3 separate regions of the Homo sapiens genome follow, and all the other regions are linked to region 3. The links are contacts of gene promoters, found by promoter capture Hi-C in human tissues and cell types (Jung and others, 2019). All regions are on one chromosome and are shown on one strand. Each heading gives the region's core, a stretch centred on a gene start or on the middle of the fragment in contact. The rest is flanking DNA. Distances are from core to core; before and after follow the strand shown.

The links. Contacts are between HindIII fragments. The study calls those that stand out against the background at their distance.
Region 1: a contact is called between a fragment that was not itself captured here and the fragment with the promoter of MCC in region 3, in 1 of the 25 tissues and cell types used here (hippocampus).
Region 2: a fragment that was not itself captured here is called in contact with the fragment with the promoter of MCC in region 3 in 2 of the 25 tissues and cell types used here (IMR-90 fibroblasts and aorta).

Annotation. Positions count from the first base shown.
Region 1 is chr5:113,292,352-113,296,707 of GRCh38, reverse strand. The region is part of intron 3 of MCC (MCC regulator of Wnt signaling pathway); the gene reads left to right. It overlaps LOC124901045 (a long non-coding RNA gene), which reads right to left and starts at 1,848. Exons shown (of 3, transcript XR_007058904.1): 1 at 1,772-1,848. RefSeq lists a silencer at 2,012-2,071. The HindIII fragment of the contact is 4,704 bases long and covers 70-4,356 here.
Region 2 is chr5:113,235,054-113,239,387 of GRCh38, reverse strand. The region is part of intron 3 of MCC (MCC regulator of Wnt signaling pathway); the gene reads left to right. Among named protein-coding and RNA genes, the nearest start is that of TSSK1B, 200 kb to the left of the region's middle. RefSeq lists an enhancer at 3,019-3,993. The HindIII fragment of the contact is 6,149 bases long and covers 1-4,334 here.
Region 3 is chr5:113,485,530-113,489,716 of GRCh38, reverse strand. MCC (MCC regulator of Wnt signaling pathway) reads left to right here and starts at 1,264. Exons shown (of 19, transcript NM_001085377.2): 1 at 1,264-1,472. The coding sequence starts at 1,303. RefSeq lists an enhancer at 1,071-1,365. The HindIII fragment of the contact is 5,374 bases long and covers 1-3,580 here.

The sequences.
Region 1 (4,356 bases), core at 1,172-3,671, 190 kb after region 3:
CATTGCCTATTGAGAAGGCCCATTTTTTTAACATGGCACTTAAAACTGTTCACTGTCTGACACCAACCCCCCTTTCTCACCCAGCTTATGCTCCAGAATGGAATGCCTGTGATCCCCATGCCCGCTCTGCACATTCCAGTCTCCATCCATACTTTCTCTCACAGTGGCCTGGAACGCTTTCCCCTTACTTCCCATCTCTGCTGGGCTCAGCCATTCTTCACAGGTCAACTCACATGCTGCCTCTTCTAAGATTCCTTCACAGAATCTTCTCTCCAGACCCTGTCCAGCCAAAATCGTATTTCCCTCCTCTGAACTGCAGTCGCTCCTCATTTGTACTGTGTTTATGGCAAGTATCATTTTCTATCTAGAATTGTCATTTCTGTTCATGTTTTACAAGTCTATAAACACCTTCAGGGCAGGGGCAGTGCTTGAATCTTCTTCATAGTTATGTATATACCACCATTTCCAGCTTCAAACATGCAGTTTTCAACAGATTTCAATGAAAAGATAAATTAAATAATGTAGCTTCCCATCTCCTCCCCATGCAGAATGTGCTCTAGTTTGGCAGTGCCCAAGGACTTGGGACCCAGTGCTCTAGAAAGAGCAGCAAACTCTTCCTAATCCCAGCAGCACCTCCATCAGGCAATGAATGAACTCAACAAGAAGGGGGATGGGTAAAACGTTATATGCAAATAGTTGCACTCTGCCCCTTCTTAAAGAGCAAAATAAACATGATTTTTTAAAAAGACCATGGAAGTTGACAATACAATGGCTTTTTCACAGAAGGCTTCAGGATATGCCAAGTTCTGTTATTGGGGATGGAGACATTTTGTCCCCATTGTGTAGAAAGAGACTGATGAGGTCTCTTAAGCAATCTCGCAGACCTACTGTTTTGAAGCATCAGAACATTTTTCTGTGCATCTCAAATTCATTGGAACTTTAAGTTTGTGGAGAGAAAAATCCTAGTTCCCCTCTTCCCCCATCTCATCTCTCTCCCAATAGACACAGGATGTTTTACCTCGGGAACTCAAAGTTGAAGGGGAGCTCAGATCCCAGGGGTGTACTGGGTATAACAGCCCCTTGAATCTTTTCTGAATCATACTCCACACTCCATAAATACAACTCTACCTCCGCTCAATTAAGGAAGGTCTGGGGGTTGGGGAGCCTATCTGACATCTTTCAAGGGATGGGGGTTGAGGAGCCTATCTGACATCTTTCAAGGGATGGGGGTTGGGGAGCCTATCGACATCTTTCAAGGGATGGGGCCTCTATCTTCATTATGGACATGCAGAAAATGTACTCTGCCCCAGTGACAGACAGAGGGAGTTTGACATTGAATTTACACCCGTAGCGTTGACTTTAGACTGATTAGGGAAAATGACTGCCCTGCACCCTTGTAAAATCTTAATGTTCCGTGAGAAGTGCACCGTGCTGTCTGATGTACAGTGTTTAGGTTTGTCTTGACCTTATTAAATCATGGAAAGCGGCTCCTATGAGGGAAGTTTTTTTTCTTTTTCTTTTCTTTTTTTTTTTTTAATTTCCTGCACGATTATTCAGGTGGCTTTTCCTGTTTCTACTCCCCCTCCTGGACTCGGGTCCTTAATTACTATTGCAGAGAACTGGAAGGATGCCTGCTCTGCTCTCCCAGCACGGTCTCCTCTGCTCGGCCTCCAGGCTACTCGCCCCCACCCTTTTCTCCCTCTAGCCCCGCCTCCTCCGCGCACCCCGTGGCCAGCAGCTAGACAGCTGTGTTCAATCAGAAACCACTTACAACTCCAGACGATTCGAAGGGGAAACTTCGGCGTGAAGTGCAGCTCCGCTCCGGCTCCCTCTAGCTTTCTTTCCTTCTCTGGAATCCGAGGCGCGGATCTTCCTCGCCCCACCGCCCTAGTTTTTTCGGGAGCTCGCCGGTGCCCTCTAGGGTGTCGGCTCGTGCTGGGAAGTGCCCTCCATCCTGGTAATGGGGGGCGGCGAGGCACCGTAGGAGTGGCGAGGCGGCGCCCAGGGTGGCACTGCCCCGGAACGGGGCGCTGGGTGCGCGCGGGAGGGTCCCCGCGCGGGCTCCGCCGCTGCCGCAGCTGCGAGCGCGCCGCGCCACCGAGCCTCCTGCAGCAATGGCTCGTCCGTGAAACGCGAGCCACGGCTGCTCTTTTTAAGAGTGCCTGCATCCTCCGTTTGCGCTTCGCAACTGTCCTGGGTGAAAATGGCTGTCTAGACTAAAATGTGGCAGAAGGGACCAAGCAGTGGATATTGAGCCTGTGAAGTCCAACTCTTAAGCTCCGAGACCTGGGGGACTGAGAGCCCAGCTCTGAAAAGTGCATCATGAATTCCGGAGTTGCCATGAAATATGGAAACGACTCCTCGGCCGAGCTGAGTGAGGTAAGAAACAGCTGAGGTCGGGAGCTAGGGTTTCTCGGGCGTTTGCTTTTCCACAAATCCCCCTCCCCTCGACCTCCCCACAGCCCTACACCCTATCCCCCTGTGCTCCCAGTCTGGAGGCAGCGCAATTGAAGATTAGTAGATTTTCTGGATCTTGTTTTAACTTGTAGTGCTACTCAGGAAATGACCTGAACTGGCTTGATATTTCAGTCTGAAATGAGTGGCTTAAAAAAGAAACAACCTCTCACCAAGCCGCGAGGCGTTTTACTCACGACAGTCTGCATCCCTTGTTCCTTCCCACCCGCTTCCACTAATTTATATACACCCTTTTATTTCCCTGATCGGTAAAATACACGGACATTCCCGATGAGTTTAAGCCGACGGTAACTAATTTGGTGGGGGTGGTGGTGGTGAGGGGGACGCATTGGATTATTTCATCTCCCACTTGGCTCCCACGTGCGATGCGTTTGGCTACGTTCAGGCAAGGTGGTCTCTTCCCTAGGCTGAGATGAATGACCCGCGCTGGGGAGGGGTCTGGGGAGAAAGCACTTCAAAGCCGCTTTAGAACTTTATTTCCTGCCCGGATCTGGACTCCTGAGTCTTTGAGGCAAGCGCATTTGCAATTCCTGGGCTCCCACTGTAACCTATCCACTTGAGTGTTTGAGACCAGCTTTGAAATTAAAGCTACATCAAACACTATGCAAATGTGTGAGCGGTAAGATGCCCAAAGCCATCTTTTTTCATGATTTTAGGGATGCTTCGGGCACATCCCTCAAAGCTTTGAATACCTGAAAAGTGATGAGAAGCCCGTAGAACTGGGTGCTGAAAAGAAGAGGAAGTCTGTGTGCTTAGTGTCTACAGCTAGAGGCTTGGTGTCTGTGGGTTTCCCTCTTGGTTCCATCACTGAGCCATTTATGGGGGCAAAAGTAGCATAAGTAGTCCGTGTTTCTTGAGTATGGCTGAAGAGAGGAAAGAGGAAGAAAAGGAAAACAGTGTAAAAGCAGCCGGAAGGCAGATAATGGTGATGTCAGACTACCAATGGTGAAGGGAAAAATGCAGGGATGGAGCCCCTGCGGGGGTGTGTGTGTGTGAGGGAACACCTGGTGATGGGAAAGAGGGGGGATTAAATGGGGTTGGGGGAAACCTAGGAGGTCTGCCGTCGGGCTGGTGAATGCTATTGGGCCCTGCCTGGTGCTCTTAAGTGTCATGCTGCTGCTGTGCTGTTCCTGCTCCGGTTTGAAATAGCATTTTGAGGTGCTGGCTGAATGAAGTAGAGCATTTGCTAATCCTTAACGGCTGTTGCCCCTGTGATGTAGAAGACTCAAGAAATGCTGAGAGTGAGAACTTAAAAATGGGAGGTGAGGGAGGAGGCATGAGGATTTAAGTGACTTTTGCCAATTTTATAATTAACGGTCTCAAATCTGAACTAGAACCCAGGGCCCTGCTCCATCACTAACCCTGTTTCAGGAGAAGCCTTTGGTGATCTTCTAAGGTCATTGAAAACCCCAAAACTGAAGGCATTTCTTTTGCAGAGACTCTTTGCCAGGCCCTTCACGATGTTTCTATGCAGCAGAGTGCTGTCCAGTAACCTTTGTTTAAATGAATCGCAGACTTAGGAGAAGGGGGGGCTAGAACCCTGAGTGAAGGAAGAGATGTGAATTGACTTTAGTCCTATTGGCACGTCCTTGAGCACATTGGGTGAGCAGAGAATGTGACACTCAGGTGCCACATAAAATTACCCATTTTTTTTGCCTAGTTGTATCCACTCCCTAAGTAATCCCTATAAAGCTTGTAGGCAAATGAAAGAGTTGAGAGTGCTTTGTAGTCCCTGCATTGGCTGGAAAACTATTTGAGCAGTATATGACATAATATTGTTCCTAAGGAAATAAGTTCCTTCCTCAGCTATATCCTTTACCAGATGTTCTTTTCTTCTCATCGGTGTCTGCTCATTCATTTTTTGCTTGCTTTCGAGCCAGT
Region 2 (4,334 bases), core at 299-2,798, 250 kb after region 3:
GCTTCCTCTCAGAGCTGCCCTTTTGGGATTCCAAACTCCTATTACCCAATTTATCTCCGAAAGAGACCCACAGTATACTGGATGTTTCCATGGCAGATTTATTCCTGGGGCCGTCCCCACTGAAACATGGAACATGTTTTTCTAAAGAGATCTTGTCATCAGTATGGCAGCAAATGAAAGTAATGCTGATGTTATTGTTTCAACTAATGGTGTCCAAACTTCTCTGTTTAAATAAAGTTAGAGCTTTAACAGCTTGTATGTCCAATTTATGTATATTTACAAATTAAATACCTTTAGTACTGTATTAATGTTATATATCCTAAAAAGCAGAAATAAACTAGACGTTAAAGGATAAGATTGAAAAAAAACATATGCATGAATATTCTCTTCACATTTCGATGAATTGTCATAGTTACCTCATCTTTTAAAACCTTTGTTACCTCTGTTTAAACCCAGGAATTAAATAGATGTTGCAGAGTAAGTTGGAAATATGTACCTCTTCTTGTAACTGCTTCTTTGGAAAATATGTTTTAAGTTCTAAACAACCATTTTACAAAAATTGGAAATGCCATTTTGTTAAAAATTTGAGACCATTAGTCTTTTTCTCTTGCCATATTGGATCACCTTGATAGTCGAGGCAAACCATGGTAAGAATGGAATTGCAGTCTTTCCACATCCCATACCCATTGGCATGTGGGAGGATGAAACTAATCAAATGTGCTGACATTTTTTTCTAATCTCTGGTCTCTTTGTTTATACTATGAACTCAGCATTAACAGCCTTCATTTTTGAATTGTATACAACCAATAACAAAATCTTAAATTTGGGGAAAATCTGTAAGCAAAATTGGGTCTGTCGTAAAGCACCAGGATTTTTTTGTTAGTTTGTTTTAAAAGCTTTATTGAAGAGTCTTTTTAGGAGAGAGAGTGAAATGCAGGACTTGCTTTCTTATGGGTCATCTGTCATGTATAATTGCCAAATAGGAAATAGGAGAAAAGACTGGAATGAAATATACAAAATTCTACCATTAGTTGTGGATAGTGATTTTTTTAGGTGGCATTTTCCCTTCATTTCTCAGTTTTTAGTGAAATAATTGCTTTGATTAAAAAAAACAGGAAAAAATGTTTCCAAATATTACTGCCTTTCTGAAAAGTGCCAGAAGCTCATCAGTTTGATTTAATGTCTATTTCAACAGTGGTGCCTCTACCCCCAAAGCCTGGTAATTTTTGCATCTGAGTTTAAGTGACTGGTTGCATGCATTTTGCTGTGAGTGCTACTTATGCCATGAGGGAAGCCAGATATAGCTGCATTCTTGATGTCTGTCTGATATCAGTCTTGCAGCCAGAAATTTTTGAGCTCTCTTTGGTAAAGGAGAGAAAATCCACAAAGCATGCTTCCTCCACCTCTGTTTCCCTACTTCAGTTTTTTCCCTCCCCAGCTCCCCAAACCATACTCATTCATGGAAATTATTTTTCTGCTGTCACTGGAAAATAATACAACTCTGATACTTCAGGCATGAGATGACTCTGATTGTTTTTCAGTGTTCTTGCCTTAGACAAAATTAAATCACCGGCAGTGTGTCGCATCCAGCCAACATCAAAGCTCTTGTCTGGGTTCTATGAGAGCCTTGCAAGTTTCTGAATCAGTCAGAAATTATCGCGGAGCTGAGACTAATCAATGAGGAAGTTCCATTTTATTTTTCAAATATAATTTCTCTTGTAGCCCATGTGTGTGCTTGTGATTTCTCTAAAATACAGCCGGCCCGTTTTCCCCTGGCCCGTGTTTCCTCCCAGTGCCTTGGTGACTGCTGTCATTTTAATGCAAGTAACCCTTCTTGGCAGAAATAAGATTAGGTAATTTTCTGACCTTCTAATCCCAGAGGCACCAATTCTCCTGGCTTGCCATTTTGTTTTTAGGTTTTTCCATAAAAATATTTTTGAACATTAAATGGGTAGTGGAAGCAGTTGGTATTTGCTTTTCATGGAACACATTTATTTCCGCATATCAATGAAAATAACCAAGTCATATTAAAATATTTTTGTGCTACAAAATTCAGAAATTTTTGTGGTATTAGCTTTAAGCATAATGGCCCAAAATGTAGTCATTAAAAAGTAGAAGTAAAATGTTCACATTTTTGCCTCAGTGATCTCAGTAGTATATTTATACCAATTAAATATTTAACTTACATATAAACCATATTCTGTGGTTACTCCTGAGAAGCAAGATACTTAGTGGATTGTATACGCCATGATTTATTCCCTGAAGGCGTATACATTTCCAAGTTTCCTTTGAACAGGCAAGTTCAGTCAATTAGCAAGTATTTAATGAATTCCCCAAGGACTTCCAGTGGATCAGGAGCCCCGTTGCCACTTTCCTTCTCAATTTTTTCAACTTGACAGAGTGAAAACAACTGACATTCAGAGTCTAATTTCTTTCAGTATATTCATTGCAGCTTTATGTTTTTAAGACTTCATGATAAATTCAGTCGAGGAAGAAAAGAGTGGGAATGCTCTCCTGGTCCAGCCTCCCAGCGAAGCCACCCACCAAGTGTAGCCACCCCGCCTGTCCCCCGTCCCCCTGAACAAACATCCGATCAGTTTGAGGAGGGAGGGAGGGGCCTTAGTTCTCCTCTCTGTGTATTCTTCTGGCTTTTTATCTGCTCTGCCCTAACCTAGGTGTTCAGCTTAATCATTTATTGTACCTCAGAGTGACTCACTTGGAAATTGTAATATTAATCGTTGGCAACGCTAACAGTGAAGATAAACATTATAATGGCACTCAATTATATGCCTGGACTCATTGTAAGTATTTTATAATTCATAATCTAATGAATCTTCAACTACCTCAACAACCCTAGACATAATTATCCCCATTTTTCAGATGAGGAAGTGGAGACACAGAAAAAATTTAAGTAACATGTCCAAAGTCAAATAGCTAGTAAGTAATACAACTGAGATTTAGTCATGGGAGTGTGGTTCCAAGAGCCCATGCTCTTATCCTCGATACTGCCTTTCTCTGGTCCCGGAAAGCTTTTCTGCCACCAGCATTTCTAGAATTTATTGAAATTTGCATTCCAGATTATTGGTGTCCTTCTTGGTTTATGCAGCAAATGCAGCAATATTATTTCAAACCTAGGCTCAGGCATATTGGTTTATGCTGCAAATGCAGCAATATTATTTCAAACCTAGGCTCAAGCATACCTCACCTCTCTCAGCTGCCATCTCATATTGTCATGGGAGTGTGACTCATTCTGCAGATCAGAGAGCCTTTAAAAGAGGATCTTGCAGCCAGCATTTTTACCTGTCATAGAATTTACTCTTCAAAGGCACCCAAGGGGCCCAACCTGAACATGAGGAAATCCGACCTACCTAGGTTAGAAGACCAAGGAAATGGTAGCGGGAACATCACCAAAGCTGCCTCAATCTTCTGAACTCTCTAAAACTTTAGCAGACTCTGACCGAATTTTAACGGCTACCAAAATCAGGTCAAGGAGGCAGAATAGATATATGTTCAGACTCCAGTTCTTTGTGTTCTGCAGAGTTGAAGCTGCAGAACTGGGCATAACATTGAAATGAAAGAATACCCCCTCAAAATGATTTGTTTCCTGGAGGAATGTAAAGTGGGAAAATCTCTTAACCGAAATGGTTTCTCTGCAGGAGAAATGGTGCCCAGTCCAGAAATCTTCTTTACACCTTAAGTGAAGGAATACTTTCCAAGTACTGAATCTCCTTGTGTAGTTTTATCATAAAGGGACATGGGCCAGGAGAGAGTTGCGAAGCACTGTGCCCTCAAATGGCAGGATTGTTAAATCCACATTCACCATTTTATTTGTGTTTCCCCACTCAGTTCCTGTATGCATGATAGAGTTGGATCTTTTTCATTCCCAAGTGCTAAATTCCACTTAAATTGATGTTTTCCTCTGAGGATTATTTACCTCTCTCTTGTTTAGTGGAATGAAGAAACTAATGCACTAACATAGTCTAATCAGATATAAAAATTATTTGGAGATTCCTTTGGGGAAGTAATATGGAATGTATGTGTGTTTGATAATTGGAATCTAAGTTAACAAAGAGGCTAGTGTTTTTATTTAGAGAAAAATTCCTCTTTGATTCATTTCTCAAGTGCATTGAAGTCAGACTTTTGAAGAACCCAGAATATGAAGTGAAAAAGGATGAGGAGAGTTTTGTGGTGTTCTCTCAATTGATTTTTTAAAAAGCCCATTTTTATTGTGGAGCAGTTTAAAGTTTTATATGGCACCTTTCACCTCGGGCAGCTTTAGGAACAGAATCAGCTCACTCAAACAATTCCAGAAAATCTGCTGGGCACAGCCTAGG
Region 3 (4,187 bases), core at 15-2,514:
TGCATTGCCTTTTCTAACCTAGTCTCAGAAGTCAAGGCAGTCACAAGTCCAATCCAGGTTTAGGGGAAGCAACAGACTCCACCTCTTGATGAGGGGTGCACCAAAGAATCTGTGGACATATTTTAAAACCACCAGAGAACTTCACACGCCTCTCTGGCAGAAAATCCAGGACAGAATAATGAGTCATTCACGAAACCACAAATTGCTTCACTGTGGTTTCCCTTTGGCTATGGGGGAATAGTGCAGTGTTTAAAGGCTCCTGCTCTGGAGTTAGGCTGCCCGGGCTTGCCTCTGCCCTAACACTTACTAAACCTGGAACCTTGAGCAGGTCTTGGTACCTCAGTTTTCTTACCTGTAAATTGGGAACAATGAGAGCTAACAGTTGTTGAGCACTTACTAGGTGTCAGACATTGTCCTAACTGCATTATGTCTGCTCTCCTTTTATATGTAAGATAACTCTATGAGGTACTTATCTATTAATACTTCCTAAGTCGTAGGATTGATAATAAAAGAGGCATCTTCCAGGTCTGTAGTGTGGATCAAATGAGACCATCTATTATGTTCGCTCTTGGCATTATTAAAGCTGTTGGGGGAAATTCTAGTGATGCCTGGCCAGTAGAGTGAGCCGTTTCCAGAAATTGACCCAACGTACACAATGCCACACAGCGTGCAGACTCTTCCCAGTACAGAGTGGGAGCCAAGATGAGGGCTGCGAGGGCCAGGTTTCTTGACAGGTGTCAAAATTTCATAAAAAGGCCAGTCATTCCGGTTCTCATTGGTGGCTATGGGTACAGAACCCGGAACAATCCTGGAGAGTGGGATTACAAGCACCGTTTTGAGTTTGCAGAAGGAGAGTGTTTATATAGCTTCTCTGGAAAAGGAAGCCATGACTCCGGGCGGTCGGAGAAGGTCTGCCGGGAGTACACCTGCCCTCTGCCTGAAGCGTCCCCAAGTGTCCCGGGCCCGCGTCGTTGCCGGATGCACAATGCTGACACCCTTCCCGGGGGCTTCCAGTGTATTCTGCCTCCTCTTGTGTTCCCGTTGCCACCCTTAGCTCCCTGACTCTTCCAGCCACCTTCCCCTCCTCCCTCTTCCCTGAGGTGCCTCCTCGGGCGATTCCAGAGCGCCCATCTTCCCAGTCCGGGCAAAACCCGGAGAGGTGGAATCCCTCGCCCGGAGCGCCCCGGCGGCCACTGGGCATGCTCCGTTGTCAGGCAAGTTCGGGGCTGCAGGCAGCTTGCGCGCCGCGCGGATTCCAGCTGCGGTCGCGCGTACTCCTCCTCCCAAGTAGGGAGCGGGCGCATGATGGCGGCCGCGGCGGCAGCGGCTGCGGGGAGCTCCAGCAGCGGCGGCGGCGGCGGCGGCAGCGGCAGCAGCAGCAGCAGCAGCGACACGTCCAGCACCGGCGAGGAGGAGAGGATGCGGCGCCTCTTCCAGACGTGCGACGGCGACGGGGACGGATACATCAGCAGGTACGCGGGGAGGTACGAGGAAACCGACAGGAGCGAGATCAGTCCCTCCGCGCGCCCTTGACCCCTGCTCTGCCCCCTCGCCCCAACTTGCGGCAAGTTGCTCAGAAGCTCGCGGGAAAAGTTGGCCGCGACTCCGAGAGCGCGTAGCCGGCTCGGCCACGAAGGCCGAGGGGACTGCTCTGTTCGCCTTGCGGGGGTGCCAGTTGGTCCAACTTTTCCCAGCGCTGTCTTTGTCTAGGCGTTGGGAGACATCTCCTTAGGATGCGCACTCTTCCGGGGGCTTGGAGTGTTCTTCCCTGTGGGAAAAGGAGTTCTGGCCGCTTGTCCCAGGTAGGAGGGGCTGCCCCACAGCCTCGGGGTCCTGGGCATCAAGATGCCGCAGCACGGGGCAGCGATCTGCCCGGCGGCTTGGTGGACACCCCAGGGCCGCACCGGGAGGAGATGAGCTAAGCGACAGCCTCGGACAGGGAAATAACCTGTGAAGAAACTTTCTTGTGCCGCAGAACCCATGAATTCCAAACTTCAGAGCCCAAAGAATGGGTATCGTTTGCCACCCAGTATTGATTTAAACGCAGTAGCCTGAGAGGAACGAAGCGCTCAGGAGCAAACTAGGGCTAGACCCGACTCCTACCCGGCTCTGTGCGCTGACCAGGTGAGCTTCGGCGTGGCTCCGGGCGCCTCCGCGCCTCCACTCACAAACAAACTTTGGGGTGTTTGCTTCGGATCCCCCGCACTTCCTACAGAGGCGGTATTTAAGCTTCCTGCCTCCCGGCTTGGCCAAATAATTACTTCTGCCCAAATTTGTGTCACTTAGACTCTTGTGGTGAAGAAGGCAATCGCAACATTTTCTGGTATGCTTCTATTGAATGGTTGACACCGGCCATTGAAGACTTGGTATCCGTGGAAATTTGAATTGCCTTGGATGAAGGAGCAGCCTAAGTTGTGCATTACATGTTTCTTTAGTCTATGTCTTGGTGATGCTAAAGATCGTTTCTGAAAATCCGGGGCTGCTTCCTGATTGTCCCTGCCTACCTAAAAAAAAAAAAAAGAAAGCAAAGTGCGGAATTTTTCCCTTAAAATAAAAAAAATTATTTATTTGGGACTCAACGCAATTTTGATCATTCTTAGGTGAATTTTTATTACTTTGCTAAAGTTTTACTGAGAAACATTAGGAAGATATCAGAAAACTTGATGGAGTAATTCTGTTCGGAAATGAAAATAATATGTAATTCTGATTGACTCCATGCAAATTTCTATCTGGAAGTCTCGTTATTTTGGTTCTGGGAGTAAAAGAAATTTCATTATATAGTTTTCCTTTTTGTTGTTTTCCTACTTGAAAGGTTATTATCTCATTTGCAATAATAAAGGCAAACTCCAACTTTGGATACAATTTTTTTTTTTTTTAGACAGAATCTCGCTCTATCACCCAGGCTGGAGTACAGTGGCGTGGTCTTGGCTCACTGCAACCTCCGCCTCCTGGTTCAAGAGATTCTCCTGCCTCAGCTTCCCGAGTAGCTGGGATTACAGGTGCCCACTACCACTCCCGGCTAATTTTCGTATTTTTAGTAGAGAAGGGGCTTCACAATTTGGCCAGGCTGGTCTCGAATTCCTGACCCTAAGTGATCCGCCCGCCTCGGCCTTAGGAAGCGCTGAGATTACAGGCCTGAGCCACCGCTCCCCGCATGGATGCAAAAAAGTTTAATTTCACACGGGCAAGAGTGCATACAGAAAACTAGCAGCGTGCTATCCTTTTCTAATTTGGCCTATTAATATATTGCTTTATCTGAACTACACTTTCTATATAAATGCTCACATTATTTTCGGTGATTCTACCCGGGAGGATAATGAATTCTGTAAGCGTAATTTGAGTAAAGTGGGTGGTGATAAAGAAGCCGTTTTGGATTAGAGTAGAAACTGGCTGGGGCAAAAGTGGAAAAAGTTGTTAACATTCCTTGAGCTGCATTACTTTAATGTGTCTGCTTAAAAGTTTCAAGGTATGTGTAGTAATGAACCCTAAATCATAACTTTAACTGTGGGTGGAGCTGCCCTGAAAATTATGCTGTGGCAGAATTGCCATGTAGGAGAAGTTTAGGGATGGCAATCTAGGGCAACAAGGAACTTGTCTGGAAGTGTGTTTACCTGGTAAGCACAGTTTTACCTGGAATTTACGTTTATGTGGTAAGACTTGGGGAATGGGGCTAATGAAGGTAAGGGGCATTAAATGATTCCCTCTCTGAAGCCACTTTTCTGTGCTGCTTTCATTTAATGACCTGTACTTACCACTCTGTAGTGGGTGATGTGGTTTGGAGGGTTGTGCATTCCTGTTCTATCAGACATGAGAGTTGGACTTTTTAACATTAAAACCTTAAAAACTTTGGATTCATCTAAAGACGTTAAATTTATGTTCCTGGTAGACAGCTGTATCTGTTAGAATTTCAGATGACTATATGTCATCACAGTAACCTAACCATAGTCAAGTAAGGGTTGGCTTTGTCACCTAGTAGAAATCTGGAGGTAGGCTATCTAGGTTGGGGCAGCAGCTCTGCGGTGGTGTCAGTCCCCAGCTACCTTCTACCTTTCTCCAACACCATTTTTCACATAAAGCATTCATCCTCATGGTTATCTCATAGTCCAAAGGTGATTGCCCTGTCTCCCTCTTCATCCCCAAATTCTAGGGAAGAAGATGTAAAAGGAAGTGGAAATAAGTTGTGCCTG